Regions from separate parts of the Homo sapiens genome. Here all the other regions are linked to region 2. Evidence: promoter capture Hi-C in 16 types of primary human blood cells and fetal thymus (Javierre and others, 2016). All regions are on one chromosome and are shown on one strand. The core of a region is centred on a gene start or on the middle of the fragment in contact, and the rest is flanking DNA. Distances in the headings are between cores, read along the strand shown.

The links. Contacts are between HindIII fragments. The CHiCAGO score rates a contact against its expected background, and 5 or more counts as called.
Region 1: a fragment that was not itself captured here is called in contact with the fragment with the promoter of TOPORS in region 2 in 1 of 17 cell types (M0 macrophages); the score reaches 7.2 in M0 macrophages.
Region 3: a fragment that was not itself captured here is called in contact with the fragment with the promoter of TOPORS in region 2 in 1 of 17 cell types (M2 macrophages); the score reaches 5.7 in M2 macrophages.

What each region holds. Positions count from the first base shown.
Region 1 is chr9:27,651,698-27,655,426 of GRCh38, forward strand. No RefSeq gene overlaps it. Among named protein-coding and RNA genes, the nearest start is that of C9orf72, 80 kb to the left of the region's middle. The HindIII fragment of the contact is 982 bases long and covers 1,775-2,756 here.
Region 2 is chr9:32,551,121-32,555,194 of GRCh38, forward strand. It overlaps TOPORS (TOP1 binding arginine/serine rich protein, E3 ubiquitin ligase), which reads right to left and starts at 1,466. Exons shown (of 3, transcript NM_005802.5): 1 at 1,314-1,466. The coding sequence starts at 1,316. SMIM27 (small integral membrane protein 27) reads left to right here and starts at 1,207. Exons shown (of 2, transcript NM_001387564.1): 1 at 1,207-1,359; 2 at 1,681-1,887. The coding sequence starts at 1,315. The coding sequence ends at 1,803. NDUFB6 (NADH:ubiquinone oxidoreductase subunit B6) reads right to left here. Exons shown (of 4, transcript NM_002493.5): 4 at 1,881-2,824. The coding sequence ends at 2,756. RefSeq lists a silencer at 27-246 and enhancers at 526-1,240, 887-1,096, 1,107-1,436, 1,241-1,954. The HindIII fragment of the contact is 29,085 bases long and covers 1-2,032 here.
Region 3 is chr9:27,596,452-27,600,445 of GRCh38, forward strand. No RefSeq gene overlaps it. Among named protein-coding and RNA genes, the nearest start is that of C9orf72, 25 kb to the left of the region's middle. The HindIII fragment of the contact is 1,757 bases long and covers 1,302-3,058 here.

The sequences.
Region 1 (3,729 bases), core at 1,016-3,515, 4.9 Mb before region 2:
GTAAAATTTAAAAAAAAAAAGAAAAAAACTTAAAAAAATGTTCTGCCATATGAGATTATAAGAAGGGTAGAAAATGTCCGTCAGAATAGACAACAAGTCCCAAAGCTTTTGACCTGGAAGAATGCAGCTTATTTGCTATAAATCTTTTTTTTGTTGTTGTTCCTAGAGCTTCTTTCACTGGAGCCACTTTGGGGCATTTTTGTCTTAGTGGATTCATCGATGTTCTAGGTGGCATGAGTGGGTGGGTGGGGTTGGGGATCCAAAGTTAACACCTGTCTCCTTCATGTGATAATCAGACTAATTTATCATAGCCACAGGGCAATGACAGTTTCTTGGAGGTTTCCTGGAAGTCAGGAAATAGTCTCCTGATGGAAGATGGAATTGCTTCCACCAGTAGGTACATCAGTGATTTTGTCAGGTAGAGGGGATGGCCTGATATAGCTTACAGGGACAGAAGTTCTTTACTTTTTGAAAATGACTTGGTGTTTTCAAATAGGGATAACTAGACTTAGCACCTGGAGAAGTTAATCATAAACAAAATGTACTCTAAAGTACATGTACACATACAAAAATGCTTATTTTAGAGAAGAAAAATGACTAGTGAGTTATATCTTATTTTCTCTTTAAAGTCAACCAAACTTTTATCCTTCTTGCCTGAGTACTATGTAAGAATGATGGACTTTTTGTTCTATAAAGATGAGGATACGGCCAGGTGCAGTGGCTCATGCCTTTAATCCCAATGCTTTGGGAGGTTGAAACCGGGGGATTGCTTGAGGCCAGGTGTTCAAGACCAGCCTGGGCAACATAGTGAGACTCCCAACTCTTAAAAAAAAAAACAAAGATGCGGATGGTTAGTACATGTTTTCCTAAGACAGTCATGAGCTCTGTAATAATGTTTTGGTCAATGACAGACTGCACATGTGATGTTGGTCTCGTAGATTATAATACTCGTAGATTATAATAATGGAGCAGAAGAATTCCTGCTGACATCATAGCTGTCTTAACCTCATAGTGCAATACATTACCCATGTGTTTGTGGTGATGCTGGTGTAAACAAGCCTATTGTGCTGTCAGTCATATAACAGTATAGTACATAAAATTATGCACAGTACATAATACTTGATAATGATAATAAATGACTATGTTACTGGTTTATGTATTTACTACACTGTACTTTTTATTGTCACCTTAGAGTGTACTCATTCTACTTATAAAAATAAAGTTAACAATAAAACAGCCACAGGCAGGTCCTTCAAAAAGTATTCCAGAAGAAGGCATTGTTATAATAGGAGGTGACAGCCCCATGTATGTTACTGCACTTCAGACTTTCCAGTGGGACAAGATGTGGATGTGGAAGACAGTAATATTGATGATCTTGAACCTGTGTAGGCCCAGGGTAATGTGTTTGTATCTTATTTTTTAAACAAAAATGCTTAACAAGTAAAAAAAAATAAAAACAGAAGAAAGCTTATAGAATAAGGCTATAAAGAAAGAAAACATTTTTGTATAGTTGTGCAATGTGTTTGTGTTTCAAGCTAAGTGTTATCACAAATGAGTCAAAAAGTTAAAAAACTAACAAACTTATAAATTTAAAAAGTTACAGCAAGCTAAGACTAATTAATTATTGAAGGAAGAAAGTAGCTTTTTATAAATTTAATGTAGCCTAAGTGTACAGTGTTTATAAAGTCCACAGTAGTGTGTAGTAAAGTTCTAGGCTTTCACATTCACTCACCACTCACTCACTGACTCACCCAGAGTAACTTACAGTCCTGCAAGCTTAATTTATGGTAAGTGCCCTGAACAGGCGTACCATTTTAAATCTTTTATACCAGTACTTTTATTGTACCTTTTCTATGTTAAATAGGTTTAGATACACAAATACTTTTCATCATTTTAACTGCCTGCAGTATTCAGTACAGTAACATGCTGTACCAGTTTGTAGTCTAGGAGCAATAGGCTATGCTATAGCCTAGGTATGTAGCAGGCTATACCCTCTAGGTTTATGTAAGTTCACTCTACGATGTTTACACAAATATGAAATCACCTATAACACATTTTTCAGAATGTATCCCCATCATTAAGTAACACATGACTGTACCACTCTGACATATGAATATCATGAATTATTAAATTCCATTAAATTATGACTAAGAAAATTAATGTATCTGCATGAAGAATCTATGTTAAATAAAAATATTTTTAACATTTATGTAAATAACAATGTCACTTAAAGTCAATTATGTCTTTACAGTAATAAGAATTGGGAAAGGCCCAGCTTTAGGATGTTTTGCTTTTAAGTCGACTTTAATGTATAATTAACGTGCAGTAAAATGTACCTATTTAAAAGGTTCATTTTGATGACATTCTGCAAATGTATATGACTATGGGAACACTATCTCAATCAAGACCTTTCCATGACCCCAAGAAATTGCCTCATGCCTCTTTGTAGTCATCTCCCCCATCACCCCCATCCCTGGCCTCAGTCAACTGCTGGTCTGCTTTCTGTTACCATAGATTAGTTTTGCTTTTCTCTAGAATTTCATATAAATGGAATCATATAGTACGCACTCTTTTGTGTTTGGTTTCTTTATTTCAGCATAACATTATGGATATTCATATATTCTATTGCATATATCAGTACTTCATTCCTTTTTATTGTTGAACATATTCACTATGTGGATATACTGCAATCTGTTTATGTATTCTGTTACTAATGCACTTTTAGACTGTCTCCAGTATGGTGCTATTATGAACAAAGCTTTTATAAATATTCTTGCACAAATAGTTGTATGGACATGCATTTTACTTCTCTTGACTAAACAAAGGTAGAATTGCTGAGTAAAGGTTTTTATTTAAAATTTCTCTTATGTTTGCTTTATTTTATTTATTTTAGAATTAGGTCTATTTTAGCCTCAAATAAATACCTCCTTATTTGTAATACAAACATTTGATCAAAGTTCTTCTGCAGAAAGGAGCCATAGTCTTTCTTTTTATCTTAGTTGGTGTTTAACTTCTTATACTCTGGCAGTAGTGATATGGAAGGGGAGCAAGGAAGTGCTGGGAGGAGAAGGGCAGGGCCCCGGCGAGGGCTGCACCCCTGGGCCTGTGCCCACGGACCTAGGTGAGGACAGGCACTTCTACCTTCACGCCCAAATGCTGCATTTCCCAGCACCGCCCTGGCCCGCCACGCCCCCATCCTATAAAAACCGCGACTAGCAGGCAGACACACAAGCAGCTGGACGTTGAGAGGAACACCTTGGTGGAAGAAGACACAAATGGCTGGACGTTGAGAGGATGTAGAGGGGAGCATGCTGGTGGAAGAGCACATGACAGACACTGGCACGCCAACAGGCCATCAGGCCATCGACCAGCGGAATGAGGCAGAGTTTGGCAGGGGCAGTTGGAGGAGAGCCCAGGCTACTGTGCAGCCTGACTCCAGGGGAAAACCATCTCCCTTCTGGCTCTCTCATCTGCTAAGTGCTACTTCCATTCAATAAAAGCTTGCATTTATTCTCAAAGCCCATGTGTGATCCGATTCTTCCGGTACACCAAGGCAAGAACCCCAGGATACAGAAAGCCCTCCGTCCTTACGACAACGCGTGGGTCTAATTGAGCTTACTAACACAAGCAGCGGGATGGCTAAACTAAAAGAGCACCTTGTAACATATGCCCACTGGAGCTTCAGCTGTAAACATTCACTCCCAGACACTGCTGTGGGGTCAGAGCCCC
Region 2 (4,074 bases), core at 216-2,715:
ACCGGCCCAAATGCGGCCCCTCCCCCGCCGCTCCAGACCCCGGAGGAGGGCAGCGCGACCCTCCCCATCTTGTTACTGGTACTCAGCCACTGGGGACACTGACTGAATGTTCGCCCCTAACTTACCCGGAAAACACGAGAACTAGTTCGATGTCGTTTCAACCTTACCAAACTCTGCGGAAACTTAGGAAATTATCTTTAGTGTCTAGATAGGGGAATTGTTAGATGGACTTGAAGTCTCTCACCTCCTGTTGTACGCCTCCCGGAAGCAACACCAGGAGTCCAACGGGATCCCAAACCAGAGCCCAACCAGTATCCTATAAAGTCTTCAGAGAGGGATCCCCTCCAGGCTGGGGAGAAACAGGACAACCTAACAAAACAGGGCCTGGACTCCTCCCTAAACAGACCACGTTTTTCTCCGCTCTTCCCCTTCCCACTCCCTGAAATCTAGACTAAAACTCTTTTAAGATAACTGCGAGGTATAAAGAACGTCTAGAGCCTAAGCGGCCCGTTGCCAGATTCTACTCCTCAGGCCTCAAATGTGAGCGCCCCAAACATTCTAGAGCTGAACCTGGTACGCTCGCCCACCAAACTGCCGTGCTCGGGGCTTAGTATCTCACGCGCGGCAGTTCAAGAACATCAGACACGCTCAACAAACACTTGTTGCTTGACTGATACATTATGGCGGGTAACGCGTCCCACGTATTTCTTCTTAGAGATATACATTACGCTATACGTTTCTGAAGAATGGCTCGATTTACAGGGGTTCCCACAACGATTTGTCACATATAAAAGAGTGGGTGGTATTTTTACGTCAAAGATGAACAGGCGAACGTCCATCTAAATCGTGTGGTATCAGATGCGGGGAGGCGTGGGGGAGGGAGCGGGGGAGAAAGCGTTAATTCTTCCAGCTTTAGAGCCAGACGTAATATTTAAAACGTGGATTGTTTTTCAAATTAACTTTTAAATGGACACGACAGCACCTTATCCTGCATTAATATTGCATTGCAACTAGAAAGAAAACCAGTGGAGGTACGCCTATCTCCTTAGTTGGCAAAAAAAAAAAAAAAAAAGCAATTTTTAACATTTTCTCGTTTATTCCCCTCTCTAAAAGGCGGGCAAGGCCCCCGATCACGTGATACCGCCCCCCAACTCCGGGCGGAAGAGGCCAGCGACAGCGCTGCACGAAGCGAGTGGGCGGGCGCTCGTGCCCGGCTAAAAGATGGCTGCTGGCGCCTGGCAGCCACCGCCTGGGAGGTTACTGTAAGGCCCGCAGCTCCCGCCAGCTCCCGCGGACTGCTGCCGCCTCCTTACCATGAAGCCAGTAAGTCGTCGCACGCTGGACTGGATTTATTCAGTGGTAAGTCCCGGGGATCGCGGGCCCCCACCGTGTCGACTCACTGGGCCCGCAGGCGGAAAGGCCCTATTTCTTCAGCACCCAGAAACTCCAAAATCCATTCCTGAATTAAGCATTTCACTCCCTCACCTCGACTCCGCCTCTTCCTGGAGGATACGATCTTCCGCTTCTTACGTAAGGGCTGCTGGGTGTACCCGCCACTGGAACCCCATTTATTCGACTTTGTTACTTTAATTCCCACCTTAGCAATGGCAACGGTAACCTGACGGGGGCGAGGGGAAATATCAGGTAGATTTCACACCTCCTTTGCGATTTTTGGTTTAGTTGCTGCTTGCCATCGTTTTAATCTCCTGGGGCTGCATCATCTATGCTTCGATGGTGTCTGCAAGACGACAGCTAAGGAAGAAATACCCAGACAAAATCTTTGGGACGAATGAAAATTTGTAACTCTTCTGGATTTAATTATCTGAAAATACAGTTCTTTCCCTCATGCTTATGTAGATATAAAAATAAAATTCATAATGCAAAGTTCCCAAGTTTATTTTTGCATTATCCTTTATAACAAGCACTAGTATGCAAATTTTTCACTTAGAGATTTTAGTATTTTACATTCTCATGACAAAATTAACAGCAACCTAAATCTGACAGTCTTGAGTGTCAGATCATAGTTGGAATAAGCTTTTCAATCAAGTTTCTAAATTCTTCAAAAATGATTCGGAAAGCTTTTTTTTTTTTTGAGACGGAGTCTTGCTCTGTCGCCCAGGCTCAGTGGCACTATCTCGGCTTACTGCAAGCTCCGCCTTCTGGGTTCACACCAATCTCGTGCCTCAGCCTCCGCAGTAGCTGGGACTACAGGAGCCCGCCACCACGCCCGGCTAATTTTTTTGTATTTTTAGTAGGGACGGGGTTTCACTGTGTTAGCCATGATGGTCTCGATCTCCTGACTTCGTGATCTGCCCGCCTCGGCCTCCCAAAGTGCTGGGATTACAGGCATGAGCCACTGCGCCTGGCCGGAAAGATTTCCTTAAAACAAAAGTGCATGGAATTGCTGTTCTTACATTTGTTTATTGTGATATTTCACTGTTGCATACCCTGATACCAAATTAGTGTAAGTACTGTGTAAGAAAAAAACAAACAAACATGTAACTAAATACTTTTCCATACCGTTTTCCAAGTCAAGAATGACCAGAAAAAGTAGGTAGTCTCTCATATTTGTTTAGCATGTCCACTTTTTACTTATTGTTAAATTACTCAGTCTCAAATTGTACAATGCTTGAAAACAGATATGACAATTTCTGAGATTAAACTTTATTAAAGTTACTTTTCCAGAAAATTCAGTAAATATGGTAATATAGGAACAAACTTAGGCTCATAAGCCTTTTAACTTTTTACATAATCTTTAATGATGTTGATCAGGAAATTCTTTCATTGGTGGAATTACTTCTCCAGTCTCCAGAATTGTATCACCCTAGGAAAACAAAGATACAGTTAGTACAAAAATCTTAAGTCTACAGAGGTGATAGTTCTATTCTGTTCTATGTTCATCAGATCTCACATGGAAAATGTACTTGAGTTCTGGCATTCCCTTTAAAAGGACCCTAGACAAAGTAGAAGCTGACTAAATCTGAACAATCAGTATTCAAAATTTTAAGGTATAGTGAAATAATAGGGAAATTTTCACTCAGAAACAAAATAATCAAAAAGGGCACGAAAATTGTGTTCTCTAAGTGATAAAGGGATAATCTTTTATTTTGTATGACCCCAATAAATGGAGGCCCCAGAAAGAAGTTGCAAGGAAACATCTGCAGTTCCAGATAAGGAGGTAATGTACCCCCAGCAACTGAATGTGTTACGCAATCACCAGTTTTCTGATTGGCTTACATACTGAATACAGAATACAAACTTTGGCTAGGCAGCTGGTCCAGATGTCTTTTCAATTCTTGATATAGATGTGGGCAAAAAGGCATGGGCATTGAAGCCAGAACCAAGTGGTAAGAATCTTGGAACCTCCACTGACAAGCTGTATAGTTTTAAGACAGATTATTCAATTTCAGTTTCAGCCATGTGTTTAAGATAGATTCTGTTAGCCTGCCAGTCCCTGAATGACTGGGAAGAGTAGAATTGTCCCCATACCCACCCCAATCCCTGCCATTCCCTGACCTGGTACTGCTCAGGATTATAGTCCAATGAAAAAATAAATATGTTTATGCCATTATACATTTGGGCAACAATTTGTTAGTACAGCTAGCATTATCCCAATAGAAATCATTGCCTTGAAGTGGCACTAATGCTGCTGTAATAAAAATCAAGCTATAGGGCACTGGCTTAGCAGTCTGGTAGCAAAGATAAAGATGGAAACAAAAGGCAGTGGCAAACTATTTAGCAAAATATCTCCTATAACTTGGAAGCTGACTGCCTAATGAACTTGAGGTTCTAGAAGAAGTAGCTGGGAAAAAAAGTTATAGTATGTGTTTGGATCCTTGGGATCCTTGGATGCCTTGGGAATGTACTTTAAGAAGCATGAGCTCAGGCAAAAAGTGGCTGATTTGAGAGGCGACATAAAAATGGAGAGGACGAGAGAACACTTTGGTGCACGCTAGAGACTTTCTGTTCCTGACCAAAAAAAAAAAAAGTTAATAGAATCTAAAAATTTGGGCCAGTCATGGTGGCTCATGCCTGTAATCCCAGCACTTTGGGAGTCCAAGGCAGGAGGATTGC
Region 3 (3,994 bases), core at 930-3,429, 5.0 Mb before region 2:
CATCACTCCAATCTCTGCTGCTCCAAATCTCACATCACCTTCTCCTCTTCTGTTATGAGGATACTTGTCATTAAATGTAGGGCCCACCTATGTAATCCAGGATGATCTAATTTCAATATCTTTGACTTAATTACATGTGCAAAAACCCCTTTTCACAGCTTCCAGGGATTTGGACATGAACATTTTTAAGTGGGGGGCCATTATTTGACCCACTACAAGAGTTCAAAGCCTTCTCGGGAAATACCATCCCTTACCCACTGACATGAGTCTGTTCATGCTGGGAGTGGTAGAAGATACCAGGACCTGAATGCCTTTGTTCCCATCTTTAACAGACACCACCCAAATTCAGTAATGGAGCAAGTGAATTTAGCACGAGTACATTTAATCTTCACACATATGTTGCTGGGTGCTAGAATTTAAAACATTGTTTTCAGCGCCCCCATTCTGACTGGTTCCCAGGGATGTAAGTCTCCTCAACACCCTGGCCAAAGCCTTACCTATTCTCTGAACCCCGCTCTGTTTTGTGCTATGGGTGGGAGGAGGGCATTACTTATTGACCTCCCTGTCCTCAATAACCTGGGTAACCGGAGACAGAGGAATCGAGCACCTCTATCCCTAAACCATCATGTTGGAAATTCCTTACTGAAGCAAGTCATTCACAGTTGTGTCTTCCAAACAGTGCAATTTCATTTGTGTGTTAGGACAGCAACTCTACTAGAAACTACTTCACATCAATAGAAACATCATTACAAAACAAGATCAATATTTCTGATTTTCATGCTTAGTGTTATTTTTTGAGAATGACCAGAAATTTTCATTTATATAGAGATATACTCTATTCTGATAATCAGAAAGAACAGATAATGACTTTGGAGAACATCAAGATTAAGGTTCCTAAGGTAAACATTTACTCCCTGGTCAATATAATATTAAAACCACTAGTACGTTTTACCTGAAAGAAAAATGAATCCATTTTTTTGGTCAACGAGTAATATAGGAAGTCCTATATCTGTTGCATTTATTTTTAAACTTCTTTTTAAGTATAAGAATACAGTACATATATGGAAAAGTATGCAGTTCATAGGTGCACAGCCTAGTCAATTATCACAAAGTAAACACATCTGTTTAATCACCATCCAGGTCAAGGAAAATACCATTGCCCACCTCACTGTCTTCAGGAAAGACCCCTGAGCCCCTTCTCTATCACTACCTTGTCCTTCTCACCAAAAGTAGCCGCTATCTTGATTGCTAAAAGGATTAATTTTGCCTGCTTTAGAATTTTATACTACATATATTCTTTAAGCTTTTAAAAGTCAAAATATCTGGAAACCACTCCTTTCATGATATTTCATCTCAGAGGTAGAATAATTATTTCTTTGTAGGTAACTCTCTGTCGGAAAGATGAATAGCTTACTCCATAAATCATTAGCATAAAAACTTATTTATAATTTACATGAGAAGTCAGTATGAAGAGTAACATTATGACCTTGTGGTCAACACAATCACACAAATGGAATTATTAAAAATAAAGATAAATGAACCATGGAATTTTCAATTCGTAATTTACCTGGTTCTCTCTGTTCCTGTCCTTCTCTCTTGATAGTAAGGTGACTTTAGCCTTTGGGACACAGTAACATTCTCTTGATTATTAAAAGTTTTTTTCTCTCTACCTGCTTGGTCTCTTGTTCATATGCAATTTTTCTCAACAAAAAGTGTTATTGTTTAGTAGTTAAAAAAAGAAATGACTTCAAAGTCAACAATATGTAGAAAGGCTTATATTTGGTGGCATATTTCAAAAATTATGAGTGACCTCAATTCTTATTAACACATGTAAGCATTATATTTACTCAATTCCAAGGAGAAATCAGGCGTAAGATGCAATGACAAAAGAAAAGGAAAGGCTGCATTGTATATAAAATCAGGTGTAGGTACAATCGAGTTTCACAAATGTTGAAATGTGAAGGGAAAAGTGCATCTTAGGATTTAGGAATAGTGCCATTTGCTGATGATATCAGCAGCGATATGGTCCAGAGGTGGCTTGATGTTATTATAATTTCCTCTAAAAATACAAAAAATAAAAATAAAAAGTTCAGGAAGTCATTTAGAAATTTACATTGATGTCCCTCAGCTGTCCCTAGAAGTAGGAACGAGTTACCCTTTAGACATAATGGGGACATTTGTGCGTGCTGTCATTTTAGGAGTTCTACAAAGCCCCACTTTCCCTCAAATGTTTATTGTCTACCATTCCTTTCTACTATCTTAAAAATCCCATCAAAACAAAACAAATAAAAGATAACTATGTGAGATGATGAATATGTTAATTTGCTTCACTACAGTTACCTTTTCACTATCTATATCCATCTTATAACATCACGTTGTATACCTTAAAAATACGCAGTAAAATTTATTTTTTAAAAAAGAATCCCATCTTTTTTTTTTTTTTTTTTTTTTTTTTTTGGATGGGGTCTCACTTTGTCACCCAGGCTGGAGTGCAGTGGAGCGATCTCCGCTCACTGCAAACTCCACCTCCTGGGTTCAAGCGAAGAATCCCATCTTTTGAATTAGTCCTTTGAACACTATTTGTACAAGATGTCTGGAAAAGGCAACTGGCTCCTGAATTTCTCCTCTAGCTTTCTCTTACTTCATTTGCATGGCTTAATTGTATATGTTAGCTAATTGTCATTATTAAAAGCACAGATCCTGACCTTAAGGGAATGAAGTGCTGGACAGATACCTCTTAATTTCCGCAACTGCAATCTCAGTTTACTGAGAATGGAAAACTCCCTCCAAGGCCTGAGAATTCTTGGTTAACACGGAGGGCATTTCCCAAGAGTGTAGAAGAGGAAGCCCAACAGGCTGAGTAAGCTATTTCTTCACCTTGTATATTTAAGTTAGAGTACTACCTCTTTTGTGTGAACTTTAGGGAGTGGTCAGTAAATGCCACTTATTTCAAATTGTTTCACTTTGGCTTGCTGGAAAGTAGATGTATTTTAGAGCAAGGTCATTTGGTATATTTGTAAAAATATACCAGACTTTCTTGATTATTTTCTTTAAATTAAGCTTACTTTTTGAAATATTATTTATTTTAAAGTAAGATTTTATATAAGTTCTCTAAATAGAATACCACTATCACTTCCCATAAATAGAAGATAAACCCATTTCCCGTTTTGGGAAATCGCTTAGAAGAATGAATTTGGAATTTGGAATCAGAAGACCGGAGTAGTCATCTCAGCTCTGCTACTTCTGTGTTTTCTGGTTCTGGGAAAATCACTTGACTTCTCTGAGTCCCAGTCTCTTCATAAAAAAAAAAAAAAAAAAAAAAAAGGGACGGGATAACAATGTCTTCTTTCTTTCTCAAAATGACATTAACTAAATCAAGCTGCAAAGGGAAATATGTGGTTCTTTTTATTTGTAAGCTTAAAGTCCAAGCAGTTATGACAAATGGGTTTCACCTGAAGTGCAAATGCCCATTTATTCCTAGTGGTTCCTGGACCCCTTTATTGAGAAGGGTTGTGATGACCTGCCCCAAGCAAGGGGGGAAGAAGGCTGCTACTGCATAGTTCACGCTACTTAACTCCTGCCTCCTCTTTACCGAGCCCTCTTAGCTCACCAGAATCTGCATCTCAGAAGCCACCTCCCATTCAGCATGAACTTCCTTTTTATAAGAGCCCCCAAAAGTCACCTCAGGTAAATCACACTCATGAAATCTCTTTTCAGCCTAAAACTGTCTCCTAAAATGAAGCCCTCCCAGGCCCTTCTAATTCTGTCACCACTTTCTCACTCCTCCAAAATAAACTGCTTTTCAGTCCAAGGAATTCTTTAGAGAGAGAAGAAGAAACAAGGATCTGCCCGTGTAATTCTGTTGTTCTATCACTTTCTTTGCTTCATTATGTGTCACAGAGGTTTAGCAAGTACTCTCCAGAGGAGGCTGGGGTGGAGGAAAAATGTGTGAGGCCTGTGGCCTAGTTACTGTTGAAGTCTTCCTAGCAGCTTG